Regions from separate parts of the Homo sapiens genome. Here region 1 is linked to region 2. The links are contacts of gene promoters, found by promoter capture Hi-C in human tissues and cell types (Jung and others, 2019). All regions are on one chromosome and are shown on one strand. Each heading gives the region's core, a stretch centred on a gene start or on the middle of the fragment in contact. The rest is flanking DNA. Distances are from core to core; before and after follow the strand shown. Region 1 holds the start of TNFAIP8L1 (TNF alpha induced protein 8 like 1). Region 2 holds the start of STAP2 (signal transducing adaptor family member 2).

The links. Contacts are between HindIII fragments. The study calls those that stand out against the background at their distance.
Region 1: the fragment with the promoter of TNFAIP8L1 here is called in contact with the fragment with the promoter of STAP2 in region 2 in 1 of the 25 tissues and cell types used here (spleen).

Annotation. Positions count from the first base shown.
Region 1 is chr19:4,635,525-4,642,601 of GRCh38, forward strand. TNFAIP8L1 (TNF alpha induced protein 8 like 1) reads left to right here and starts at 3,992. Exons shown (of 2, transcript NM_152362.3): 1 at 3,992-4,105. RefSeq lists silencers at 744-923, 3,513-3,592, 3,653-4,092 and an enhancer at 3,993-4,992. The HindIII fragment of the contact is 40,660 bases long and covers 1-7,077 here.
Region 2 is chr19:4,336,707-4,343,271 of GRCh38, forward strand. It overlaps STAP2 (signal transducing adaptor family member 2), which reads right to left and starts at 2,121. Exons shown (of 13, transcript NM_001013841.2): 1 at 1,946-2,121. The coding sequence starts at 2,047. RefSeq lists enhancers at 5,768-5,887, 5,908-6,565. The HindIII fragment of the contact is 19,957 bases long and covers 1-6,565 here.

The DNA of each region.
Region 1 (7,077 bases), core at 2,742-5,241, 300 kb after region 2:
CCGTCTACCTCCCCAGACACCCGGCTGACACAGGCTGGCGTCTGCACGGCTGACACTTGTAAATCCACCCTCCTTCGGGGGCAGGCTGGCTCCTTCTCTGGCAGCAGGAAGATAGAGGGAGTTGGTTTAGTGGTTGGGGGGAAAGGAGTGCGCCCCTGACCCCATGCCCAGCCCCCGACCCCAGGGAGGGTGACAGCCCCTCCCTCTCTTCCAGTGACCTTGGGAAAGTTCCAGGAGGCCCCCGGGCCTGGACTTTGAGAGGTGAGCGCTCCAGCAAGATTCGCTCCCCTCCTTCTGTCCCTGCTCTGGGCCCGCCCACCCACTCCCTTTCTCAAGCGGCCTTGGAAAGGGTCTTGCAGAGACAGACAGATGGCCTGGGGACAGATGGCGGACGTGTAGGAGTTACCACTGGGAGAGGGGTAAGGGGGAGGGGAGTGCGTTCTGGCCCCCAAGACGAGTCCCACAGGCTCCTGCAGAACAGAATAAGCCGCCTCCTTCAAGCCCCTCAACTGGGATATCATCGTCCCCCCGCAACCAGGATCCCATCACCCCATAAACGGAATCCCATCCCCCATCCCAACCAGGGTCTCATCATCCCCGCAAACGGAGTCCCATCGACCCCACATTCAAGGTTCCATAGCTCCCCCAAACGGGATCCCATGGCACTGGGCCGGGGCAGAGGCCCGGAGAAGAGGGTCGCTAGCTGCAGGTTGCACAGCCCGGCAGGGTGCGAGGCCTGGCCTGGGGGTGCGGGTGACTCTGGTGGGTCTAGGCTCCGCGGGGAGACTTGGGCCTGGAGACCCCGCCCCGCACGCAGATCCCGCCCGCCCCGGCCGCGGGTTCCGGGGAAGCGAAGGCGCCGCCAGCCCGGGCTGTGGGCAGAGCGCGCCCTCTGCCGGGCATGATCGGAAACGGCGCGGCGGCGACTCCCGGACCCTCGGGACTCCGGACCCGACTCCCACCCGGCTGAGCTTTACCGGGTTATAGAGCCCCCAACTCTGGATCGATCCCCGACCTCCTAAGGAACCGCGACACTGGGCTGAGCTCCCGCCTTGGGCTAAACCTCAATCCCAGTAGAGCTGGGACCTGGGCTGAGACCCCAACTTTGGATAGAGCCTCTGATCTGTCTTTGAGCCCTGGTCCTGAGCCAAGCCTCAAACTCCAATAGAGTCTCCATCGACCTGAGCTCCCAACTCAGGGCTGAGCCCCCCTCTAGGCTGAGGTCTGATACGGAATAGAGCCTGCGACCCCTTCTAAATCCCGACTCTGGGCTGAGCCTGGACCCTCGATAGAGTCTCCAACTCTAGGCTGAACCCTAACCCTGGGCTGCACCCTTACTGTAGACAGAGCCCAATCCCAGCAGAGGCCCTATTCTCACTAAGCCCCATCACCCAGTAAGCCTGCATTCCCGGCCAAGATCATCCCTCCCCCACCCCTAACACCCACTGAACCCTAGCCCTCCCGAGTCCCAACCTTCTTATCTGATACAGAAAAGAGACCAGGTGTGGTGGTTCTTGCCTGTAATCCCAGCGCTTTGGGAGGCAGAAGCAGGAGGATCGCTTGAGGCTAGGAGTTCGAGACCAGCCTGGGCAACATAGTGAGACACCCCCTATCTCTATTTAAAAAAATAAAAATTAGCCGAGCTTGGTGGTGCACACCTGTGATTTCAGCTACTTGGGAGGCTGAGGCAGAAGGATTGCTTGAACCCAGGAAGTTGAGACTGCAGTAAGCTGTGACTGCACCACTGCATTCCAGCCTGGGTGACAAATCGAGACCCTGTCTAAAAAAAAAGAAAGAAAGAAAAAAGGTGAAATCATGCTAGGCTCAGATGCCTCCAGTCCTCCTGCCCTGATGGGGAGACCCCCTTGATGCTGGGGTTGCGAGAGGAGCTGTACACACCACACCAAAGTCAGACCTAATCAGGTCCTAATCCCATCTCTGCCTCATCTGGCTGTGTGGCCTGGAACCTATCCCTTCCTCCCTCTGGGGTTCCATTTCGTCATCTGTGAAATGGGACAGTCACTCCTGACTCTACCACCTTGTGCCTGTGTGACCTCAGGCAAGTTACTTCCTCTCTCTGGGCCTCAGTCTCCTCCTCCAAAATGAAATAAGAAGGTGTTTTGTTTTGTTTCTTGAAACAGAGTCTCGCTCTGTCGTCCAGGCTGGAGTGCAGTGGCGCGATCTCGGCTCACTGCAACCTCTGCCTCCTGGGTTCAAGTGATTCTCGTGCCTTAGTCTCCCAAGTAGCTGGGACTACAGGCGTGCACCACCACTCCTGGCTAATTTTTTCATATTTTTGCTTTATTTTTTATTTTTTGAGATGGACTCTTGCTTTGTAGCCCAGGCTGGAGTGCAGTGCCGCGATCTCGGCTCACTGCAATCTCTGCCTCTGGGGTTCAAGCAATTCTAGCACCTCAGCCTCCCGAGTAGCTGGGACTACAGGCGTGCACCACCACGACCAGCTAATTTTTTTTTTTTGTATGTTTTATTTTTTGAGATGGAATTTTGCTCTGTCGCCCCGGCTGGAGTGCAGTGGCCCGATCTTGGCTCACTGCAACCTCTGCCTCCAGAGTTCAAGCGATTCCCCTGCCTCAGCCTCCTGAGTAGCTGGGATTACAGGCATGTGCCACCACACCCGGCTAATTTTTGTATTTTTAGTAGAGACGGGGTTCCACGATGTTGTCCAGGCTGGTCTCAAACTCCTGACCTCAGGTGATCCGCCCACCTCGGCCTCCCAAAGTGCTGGGATTACAGGGGTGAGCCACCGGGCCCAGCCAATGAGATATTTAACTTACTTTTGCCTCCTGAGGCCTGTGCCTCGGTCTTCCTGAATCCCGTGTGCAGGTCAGGACACACAACAGGCCCTCAACAATTTGTTGTCTGGCTTCCTGGAGGAAGAAGCAGCGAGGTTGCTATGGGCTCCCTAGGCCCTAGCTGCAACCGGGACCCAGAGTTGGGCTGCAGGGCGGAAATGGTGCTGCAGGGGACCTGGGAGCAGCTCCAGGGCCTGGTTCCCAGGACTCACAGCTGCATCCTCCCCGGGGGACCCCAGCTGGCGCTGCGCAGCCGGGAGGCTCCTGTGTGTCCTGCAGGCTCATTCCTACGGAAATCGAGGCTGGACCTGGGGATCCTCTGATGAGGTCTCCAGGAGCCCTCCACCTCACCCCAAAGATTCATCTATAGCCCCACAACCCTGGGTTAGATTCATCCCTTCTTGTGGCACAGAACTCTGTATTTTTAAAATTTTAACTTATTTTGATCTTCTTCTTTTTCTTTCTTTCTTTTTTTTTTTTTTTTTGTAGAGACAGGGTCTCCCTAGGTTGCCCAGGCTGGTTTCAAACTCCTGGGCTCAAGGGATCCTCCTGCCTTGGCCTCCCAAAGTGCTGGGATTCCAGGCGTGAGGCACCACACCTAGTTGGAATCTGCATTTTAAAATGGACTCTCAGATCTTTCTGACGCGAAGGGTTCCCCGAGGCCGTACTTTGAGAAACACGCTTCTGCCGAAATTCCTATTACCCAGGCGGGTAAACTAGCCCCAGAAGGAGGAAGGGGCCCGTGCAGAACCACGTGGTTGGTCTGTTTTGCCTTTTGGCTCTCTGGTCTCTTCCTGTTGGTGTCTCTGTGCCTCCCTCCCCAGGTTCTCTGTCTGTCTCGTACTCTTATCTCTTCCCTTTTCTGTGGCCGGCACCCCCACGACGGCCTCGCCCCCGCATCCGGGCCCCTTCGCGATTCCGGAGGAATCCCCCAGAGCCGCCTGACCCCGCCCCCAGGCTCCGCCCCTTCCCCCCACTTCCCCCCCGTCGCAGTGCCCTGCTCCCATTGGCCTTTTCGTACATTGCCCGCCCTGTCATTGGCTAATCCGGAGCGCTCGGCCCGCCCCCCAGGCCTGGCAACTCTCCGGTCCCTTCCGCGCGGGCGGGGCGAGTGGAGGGCGTGGCCTGCCGAGGGGCGAGGCGAGTGGAGGGCGGGGCCGCGCTGCCCGCCCCGCCCCGGCCCCGGCCCCGGCTCCGGCGCTGCTCCCACCGCCGCGGCAACGGCCCCGGCCCACGGAGGCGGCTGGACGGACCCCCGACGGTTGGACGTACGGACTCTGCTTCGAGAGTAGGTGAGCGAGCAGTGCCGGGGCGCCCCCCATTTCAGCGCATCTCGGGGGCCACCTGGCCGCCCTCTGTCTCTCCCGCCCCTTAATGCTTCTGCACCCCACCGCCTGTCCGTCTACATTCCTGCCTCAGTTTCCGTCTGTCTCTCTGTCACTCTCGCTGTATAGGTTAGGGGGAGACAGATTGAGTCTCAATTGCCCCCCTTGGCGTGGGGCTCTGCTCTGGGACCAGCACCCCCATCCCCCATGTGGACTCTAGTGGACTCTGCCCCCTTTAACTGTAGGGCCGCAGGTGCTCAGGCCAGATTCCAGAACCCTGAGGGCATTCCAGGCGGTGGGCAGCTGGGCCAGCCGTGCGGAGGTGGGCATGACTGTAGCTTCTAGCTAAACCAGGCATCGGTCCAGGCATCGGTGGCGGGGAGCCAGGCCTAGGCCAGCCCGGGCCCACCCAGACTGGCCCCTAATGAGCTCCCAAGTGGCCTGTGGGGACTTGGCCTCAGTTTTGCCAGCTGTGAACTGGGACCGTCGCTGCTAAGGTAATTGGCAGGTGATCTGAAGGACACCTGCCGCCTCCTGGCCTTTTCTGTGAAGTCGAACTAGGCCCATTTCCTGGGATGGGAAACTAAGGCCTAGAAAGAGGCCAATGCTTCCAATGTTTGTCCAGGGAAGTGGGGACAGAGGCAGGACAGAATCTGTTTTCTCTGCATCCTCACATTTCCCAGCACCTTCTCTATGGAGGGGGGAAGGGCTGGTGGAGGAGCAGCCCCAGGTGTAAACAGGCCGCCAGAGTTTATTTCCTGAGCCAGTCCCAGCTCAGCTGGAGGCGATGAACGCCTTGGGAGGCCCCAGGGGGGCCAGCCCAGTGGTGGCGGAGCTTGGACCAATCTAGGTTTGAGCTCTGCCACCCGCATGATATCTTGAACCAGTTTTTCAATTCTGCGGAGCCTCAGTTTCCTCATCTGTAAAACAGGAGTGGGTCGTAACTCCCCAAGTTGAGGGCTGCTGGGGGATCAGATGCAGGAATACAGGCCCTGCTCATAACCTGCCTGACTCTCGCTGTGGCTCTGCCCCAGTCACACTGGCCTCCTCCTGTTTCTCCAACACCCCAGGCGAGGTCCTCTCTCAGGGCCTTTGCATGGGCTGTGCCCTCTGCCACTACGGCAGGTCCGAGGGCGCCAACTTTGAAACATAACAAGCTCCCTGGATGGGCCGGACCCAGGACCTGCACAGGCAAGGGCTGGGAGGGGCAGAGGAGGGGCCGCTCAGGGACGCTGTACCTATGGAAACCGTGAACAAAGGGCTGTCTCCAGCCACACAAACACCTGGGTGAATCGGGCACTGGCCAGAGGCTGGAGCAGCCTGGGATACAGGTGGTGGGTGAGTGCCTGGACCCCTGCAGGGAATATGGGGCCGGGGGGGGGACTTGAACCCTGCTCCAATGGTGGGGTGGCTCTGCAGACGGGTGCAGGTCTGAGGCCCCGCGGTACGGCCCCTCCCACTGTGTGGCCTTGGACCGACGGTCAGGTGCCCCCAGAGCCTCAGTTTCCTCATCCCCGTTCCCCCAGGGGTCAGCCCAGGTGGGTGAGGGGTCTTTTGATTGCTTGACAATTCAGTATGGTGGGTTCCGGAGGCCTCAGTGTCCCTGTCTGTCCAATGGGGCCACGAAAGGGTGCCTTGAGGACAAAACTCCAGCCGTTGACAGGGGAACACTCCTCCCAGAGAGACGTCAACGCTAAAAAATGACTCACACTTGCCCAGGTACAGCTCAGGTGTTACAGACGGGGAGCAGGGCAAGGAGGCAGAGCGAGAGGCAGGAACGGCCCAGTTCCACAGCATGCCTGCCCCTTCCCAGCATCTCCCGACACCCCTCAGCAGATGACCTCCCTGGAATCACACCCGCTCGAGCTTTGACGCAGGGACCTCTGGCAGAGTTCTTGGGATCTTGTAAATCCCCAGCTTCTAGGCCTCAGTTTCCCCATCTGTCCAATGGGGCTGGTCATCTCCTTTTTCTTGTGGGGCTGAGATAACTGTGGGGAGGGAGGGTGCTTTGAGGGGTGGGGGAGATTCAACAAGATATTGTTAAAAGCCCGAGGAGGGGATTACAGGACACAGTACTTCTAGAAGCTTCCTAAGGCTTCGATCCTTCCCCTCTGGGGTGGGCTCTGGGAGAGACGAGACTTGAACCCCAAATGTGCCATTGACTAGGATGAGGAAAGGATTGCACTAGGTTAAAGGCTGGGTTCAAATTCTGATTCTGCCACATCACTGCTTTATAAACAGGCAAGCTCCTGACCCTCTGTGACTCAGTTTCCTTATAACCAAAAACTTGCAGGTCCATCTAGAGAATTTCCCAGCCTGGGCAACATGGTGAAACCCTGTCTCTACTTAAAACAAAGAAAAAAAAATTAGCCAGGTGTGGTGTCGCAGGCCTGTAGTCCCAGCCACTCTGGAGGCTGAGGTGGGAGGATCACCTGAGCCCAGGGAGGTTGAGGCTGCAGTGAGCCGAGCTCATGCCACTGCACTTCAGCCTGGGCGACAGGAGTGAAACCCTGTCTCAAAGAAAAAGAAGAGAATTGGCTGGGCGCCGTGGCTCACGCCTGTAATCCCAGCACTTTGGGAGGCTGAGGTGGCCGGATCACCTGAGGTCAGGAATTCGAGACCAGCCTGGCCAAGAGGGCAAAACCCTGTCTCTACTAAAAATACAAAAATGAGGCGGGCGTGGTGGTGGGTGCCTGTAATCCAGCTACTCAGGAGGCTGAGGCAGGAGAAACACTTAAACCCAAGAGGCAGAGGTTGCAGTGAGCCGAGATTGCACCACTGCTCTCCAGCCTGGGTTGACAGAGTGTGAGACTCCATCTCAAAAAAAAAAAAAAAATTAAAAATATACACATAAAATAAATAAAATAGATGGGGGATCTGGGAGGGCTTCCTGAGGAGGGGCCATGTAAACCCAGACCTGGATGACAAGAAGGAAACAG
Region 2 (6,565 bases), core at 871-3,370:
TCACTGCAAACTTCGCCTCTCAGGCTCAAATGATTCTCCTGCCTCTGCCTCCCAAGTAGCTGGGATTAAGGCGCCTGGCACCATACCCAGCTAATTTTTGTATTTTTTAGTAGAGACGAGGTTTCACCATATTGGCCAGGTTGGTCTTGAACTCCTGACCTCAGGTGATCCGCCTGCCTCGGCCTCCCAAAGTGCTGGGATTACAGGCGTGAGCCACAAGCCCGGCCTCCCCCATTATCTTTCTTAACTGCAGTGATCTACTGGCTCTAAAGGGTTTGTTGGTTGGGGAGGATTTGGATGTATGGAGGTAGAAGGAAAGTCTACTCCACTACAGGTAAGGGAACCTCAGGGGCAGAGGCGGGGACATGGGCAGGGAGGAGCTGGGGGTGTTTGTTTTGATCTGTATTAGAAAATGAGGCAGTCATGGTGGCTCACACCTCTAATCCCAGCAGTTTGGGAGGCTGAGACAGGAGGATCACTTAAGGCCAGGAGTTTGAGACCAGCCTGGGCAACATAGCAAGACCCCATCTTTTTTTTTTTTTTGAGACGGAGTCTTGCTCTGTTGCCCAGGCTGGAGTGCAGTGGCACGATCTTGGCTCACTGCAACCTCTGCCTCCCAGGTTCAAGTGATTCTCCTGCCTCAGCCTCCAGAGTAGCTGGGATCACAGGCACGCACCACCACGCCCGGCTAATCTTTGTATTTTTAGTAGAGACGGGGTTTCACCATATTGGCCAGGCTGGTCTCAAACTCCTGACTTCAGGTGATCCACCTGCCTCAGCCTCCCTAAGTGCTGGGATTACAGGTGTGACCCACTGCGCCTGGCCAGCAAGACCCCATCTTCAAAAAAAAAAAAAAAAGGCTGGGTGCGGTGGCTCATGCCTGTAATCCCAGCATTTAGAGAGGCCGAGACAGGTGGATCACCTGAGGTCAAGAGTTCAAGACCAGCCGGGCCAACAAAATGAAACACTGTCTTTACTAAAAATACAAAAATTAGGTGTGGTGGTGCGTACCTGTAATCCCAGCTACTCGGGAGGCTGAGGCACGAGAATCGCTTAATCGTTTGAACCTGGGAGGTGGAGGTTGCAGTGAGCCGAGATGGTGCCACTGCACTGCAGCCTGGGTGACAGAGTGAGACTCAGTCTCAAAAATAAATAAATAAAATAAAAGCCAGAAGAGGCAGTGCATGCCTGTGGTCCCAGCTACTCAGGAGGCTGGGGCGGGAGGTTCACTTGAGCCCAGGAGTTTGAGGCTACAGTGAGCCATGATCGTGCCCCTGCACTCTAGCCTGGGTGACAGAGCAACTCTGTCTCTAACAAAAAGAAAGAAAGAAAATGAATATGCGGCATTGGGAAGGAGAGATAGGGCCTCACGGGGAACGGAGGGGCTGGGACTTTATTCTGAGGGAGACATAAGCACACACACACACACACATGCACGCACTGTCCATGGCAACTATCTGTCCTGTGGAATGTGGCCCCCGCTAGCTCTTACTGTCCTCACATGTCACCTGTCCTGGCCTTCGCCCCAGCAGCTGAGGTTCACGGAGTTTTTCCTGGGCTGGGAGCGGGAGGAAGCTCGGGAGTCAGAGGACTCCCCATTTCCTGGAGGAAGTCCCTGATCTTGTTTGTATTCAAGAGAGTGAACGAGAGACAAAAGCAAAGATTGAGACAAAGAGAGAGGGAGACTGAGACAGACATCGGGAGAGACAGACGGGGCCAGGGAGAGAGAAAGAGAAAAAGAAACCAAATTCAAAGACACACGGAGACAGAGATAGACGCACAGAGAGGCAGATGGCCAGAACCCACCCCAGTCCCCCAGCACGTGTCCTGCCCCATCCAGCACCCACCCCGCCCCCCCTTGGCGAGTGGGGAGACAGGGACTCAGAGAGGTGCCGCAGCTCCCCACGGTGGCCCAGCAGGGCCAGCCCCCGCCTCCCCACCTTACCCGGTCACAGGGCCCCTTCTTCTCTAGAAAGCTCTCATAGTAGTGTGAAGGCAGGACACCCTTAGGCTTGGGGACACGGGGTGGCCTCAGGGCAGAGGCCATGACGGAGCCAGGGTCTTCCGCCTGGCCTCTCCTTCCAGTGGGTGCCCCAGCTGGGCCGGGAAGCTGAGAAACAGGTTTCAGGGGAGTTTCCTGTGTCAGCCCGTCAACTCCCTCCCCTGCCAGGGCTGGGCAGAGGCTGATCCCAGCAGGTCCAGTGATCCTAGGGAAATCCCCGCCTCTCCGGTGTGGAACTGAGAACAGAGAGAATGTATAAGTCTACTTGAATGGGAGAATAATCTTCGCTATATCTGCAAAGACAGAGACATGGTCTGTCTCTTTATTTATTTATTTATCTATTTTTCCTATTTTGAGACAGAGTTTCACTCTGTTGCCCAGGCTGGAGTAAAGTGGTATGATCTTGGCTCACTGCGACCTCTGCCTCCCGGGTTCAAGAGACTGCGCTGCCTCCCGGGTTCAGAGACTGAGTCCAAGCTCAGTCTCCTGACTAGCGTGGATTGCAGGTGACCGCCACCACGCCTGGCTAATTTTTGTATTTGTAGTAGAGACGAGGTTTCCCCATGTTGGCCCAGGCTGGTCTCGAACTCCTGACCCCAAGTTTTCTGCCCGCCTCAGCCTCCCAAAGTGCTGAGATTACAGGCATGAGCCACCACACCTGGCCCTTTCTCTTACTTTGATGGACCCTAATGATTACATTGGGCCCACCTGGATAATCCACGCTACTCTCCCTATTTTAAAGTCAGCTGACTAGCAACTTTAATTTCATCTGCAATTTTTCTTTTTTAGACGGTGTCTCATTCTGTTGTCGATGCTGGAGTGCAGTGGCACGATCATAGTTCACTGCAGCCCTGACCTCCCAATCTCAAGCGGTCCTCCTGCCTCAGCCACCCGAAGAGCTGGGACTATAGGTGGGCACCACCACACCCAGCTAATTTATTTTCCTTTTTTAAGGATGAGTTCTCACTATGTTGCCTAGGCTGGAGTACAGTGGGGCGATCATGACTCACTGTAGCCTCGACCTTACAGGCTCAAGTGATCCTCCAGCCTCAGCCTCCAGAGTAGGTGGTACTACAGTTGCATGCCACCACACCTGGCTAATTTTTTTTTTTCTTTTTTTTGAGACAGACTCTCGCTCTGTAGCCCAGGCTGGAGTGCAGTGGCGTGATCTCGGCTCACTGCAAGCTCCGCCTCCCAGGTTCATGCCATTCGCCTGGCTCAGCCTCCCAAGTAGCTGGGATTACAGGTGCCTGCCACCACGCCCAGCTAATTTTTACACTTACTAGAGACAGGTTCTTGCTATGTTGCCCAGGCTGGTCTTTTTTTTTTTTTTTTTTTGAGACAGAGTCTTACTCTGTCACCCAGGCTGGAGTGCAGTGGAGCGATCTCGGCTTACTGCAACCTCTGCCTCCCAGGTTCAAGCAATTCTCCTGCCTCAGCCTCCCGAGTAGCTGGGATTATAGGCACGTGCCACCATGCCCAGCTAATTTGTTTGTATTTTTATTTTAGTAGAGATGGAGTTTCACTGTGTTAGCCAGGATGGTCTTAATCTCCTGACCTTGTGATCCACCTGCCTCGACCTCCCAAAGTGCTGGGATTACAGGCATAAGCCACCGTGCCCGGCCCTCAGGCTAGTCTTGAACTCCTGGGTGCAAGTGATCCTCCAGTCTAGGCCTCCCAAAGTGCTGGGGTTACAGGTGTGTGCCACTGTGCCTGGCGTCTATCTTTAATCTTCAAATCCCTTTGCCACGTATCCTAACGTATTCACAGATTCTGGGAATTAGGGCGTGGATATCTTTAAGAGACCATTATTCTGCCTACCACAGCCTGTTTAATATGGTGGACAATTGATTAATTTTGAATACTGAATCAGTCTTGGGTCCCTGGAGTAAACCCCACTTGTCATGGTGTATAATTCACTTTATATATTGTTAAATTCTACTTTGTAATATTTTGTTAAGGATTTTTGCACGTCTTCATGAGGGATATGGGGTGTAGCTTGCTTTCTTTGTACCGTCTTTATCTGGTTTTGGTATCAGGGTCATAGTTCCATAAAATGAACAGGGAAGTGTCCCCTTCAATTTTCTGGAAGAGATGATGTGAAATTGGTGTTAATTCTTCTTTGAACCTTTGGCAGAATTCCTTAGTGAAACCATCTGGGTCTGGAGATTGCTTTTTTGGGAGTTTTTAAATTACAAATTCAATTTCCTTAGTAGTTACCAGGGCTAGACTTTGTATACATAGCAGAACAGGTGTTCTAGAAATCACAGAAAGGCCGTGGGACTGTGGCAATGTGTTCATCCACTGAACTGTCTGATAAAGTTGATAGTATCAGCTATACTAAGTAAGGTCAGAGAGTTGATTTTTGTTTCGTTTTTTTGTTTGTTTGTTTTTTCAGACAGGGTTTTGCTCCTTTTGCCCAGGCTGGAGTGCAGTGGCATGATTTCGGCTCACTGCAACCTCCGCCTCCCGGGTTCAAGCGATTTTCCTGCCTCAGCCTCTGGAGTAGCTGGGATTACAGGTGCCTGCCACCACCCCCGGCTAATTTTTTTGTTTTTATTAGAGATGGGGTTTCACCATGTTGGTCAGGCTGGTCTTCAGCTTCTGACCTCAAGTGATCCCAAAGTGCTGGGATTACAGGCGTGAGCCACTGTGCCCAGCCAGGGTGGTTAGTTTTTATTGTATTTGTCTAAGGCAATGTGGAGCGACAGAAGGATTTACAGCATGAGAGGAGGGCAGGGTGCGGTGGCTCACGCCTGTAATCCAAACACTTTGGGAGCCCAAGTGGGAAGATTGCTTAAGGCCAGGACTTGGAGACCAGCATGGGCAACATAGTGAGATCCCCTTCTTTTACAAGAAAATTAAAAATTAGCCAGGCATGCTGGTCACGCCTGTTGTCTCAGCTACTCTGGAGGCTGAGGCAAGAGGATCATTTGAGTCCAGGAGGCCAAGGCTGCAGTGAGCCATGATTACACCAATGCACTCCAGCCTGGGAGATAGAGCAAGGCCCTGTCTCGAAAAGAAAAGAAAATAGGCTGGGCGCAGTGGCTCACACCTGTAATCCCAGCACTTTGGGAGGCTGAGGCAGGTGGATCACCTGAGGTTGGGAGTTCGAGACCAGCCTGGCAAACATGGTGAAACCCCTTCTCTACTAAAAATACAAAAATTAGCTGGGTGTGGTGATGTGCATCTGCAGTCCCAGCTAATTGGGAGGCTGAGGCAGGAGAATCGCTTGAACCTGGTAGGCAGAGGTTGTAGCGAGCCAAGATCTTGCCACTACACTCCGGCCTGGGTGACAGAGCGAGACTCCGTCTCAAAAAAAAAAAAAAAAAAAAAAAAAAAAAAAGAAAAAAGAAAAGAAAAGAAAACAAAATAATAATATGGGAGGGAGGTGGTAATAGGTGCATTTTAGAAAGAGCCCTCTGGGGCAATGGTGGAAGACCGACAGGGTGGGGCATGAGTTTGGAGGCCTGAGACTCACTGCGATGGCCAGGATTTGGGTGCAAGAGGCTGGAGGTGTGGCTCAGGGTTTTGGAAGGCAGGGGACGGAAAAAAAGCCAAAGAGAAAGTGCGTAAGGAGTTGGGGAAATAAACTGAGGCCGGTTTGGGCTATGCTGAGTCTGCAGGCCTTGGGGATGCCCGTTGTTGGCTGGACAGTCAGGGTGGGGCCCCTAAAGGGTGCCTGGGCTGGACAACAATAGTTCACATGTACCCAGCTCTTGCTCTATGTCAAGTCTTCTTCCTGAGAACATTCCCGAGCACCCTGGAGAGCCTCCCCCGCACCCCTACTGTCCAGTTCCCACTTCCCGACTGCGGTCTGGGCAAAGCCACCCGCACTTGAGCCCATCCCACGGCGTCCCGGAGCTTTAGGAAGTCCCCATCCCGGACTTTCAACCCTGCCAGGGACTGAGGGAAATCCCAGAGCCTGGGCTCCGGGACGAAGGTCCCAGGACAGGGTCGGGGATGTAGTTGCAGAAACAGGGTAGGGGACAAAGGCCGGGGCTGCACTGATCAGGCGCGCAACGAGCCCGGCCCTGCCTCCTGCTCCGCCCAAGGGTATGGAGGGCCGGACTCGGCTGGCCTTATACCCGGAGCTGATTGGCTGGTGAGTCCAGTCCCTGCCTCTGATGGTTTGCGCTCATAACTAAGGGTTTCTACTGATTGGTTTACATGGACGTCTGCCCATTGGTCAAATCCGAGTTGGTGTAATCAGATAGTTGACACGGATTGGTTGGTGCGGGAATCCAGTAGCTTGCTATCGATTGGTTGAGGGTGAAATAAATGGGACTCTTATCATTGGCTGGCGGGCTCCGCAACGGTCCAATCATGGAATCAGTCGAGGGCCGCCCGGGAGGGTGGGAGTTAATTCTTTAGCGACTGAGGCCGGCTTGGGCTCTTTGGCTCCACCTGTGTCTGCGCGAGGCTGTTCCCTATTGGAGTCCGCATTGTTCCCCTGGACCTGAGTTTCTCCCCTGGTCCTAAAGGCCGAGGCCTCTGAGTTCCTCAAGTGCGGTGACCGCAGGTCTCACCTTCTCCTCTCCTTGCAGCAGGCTGAGCCACTCG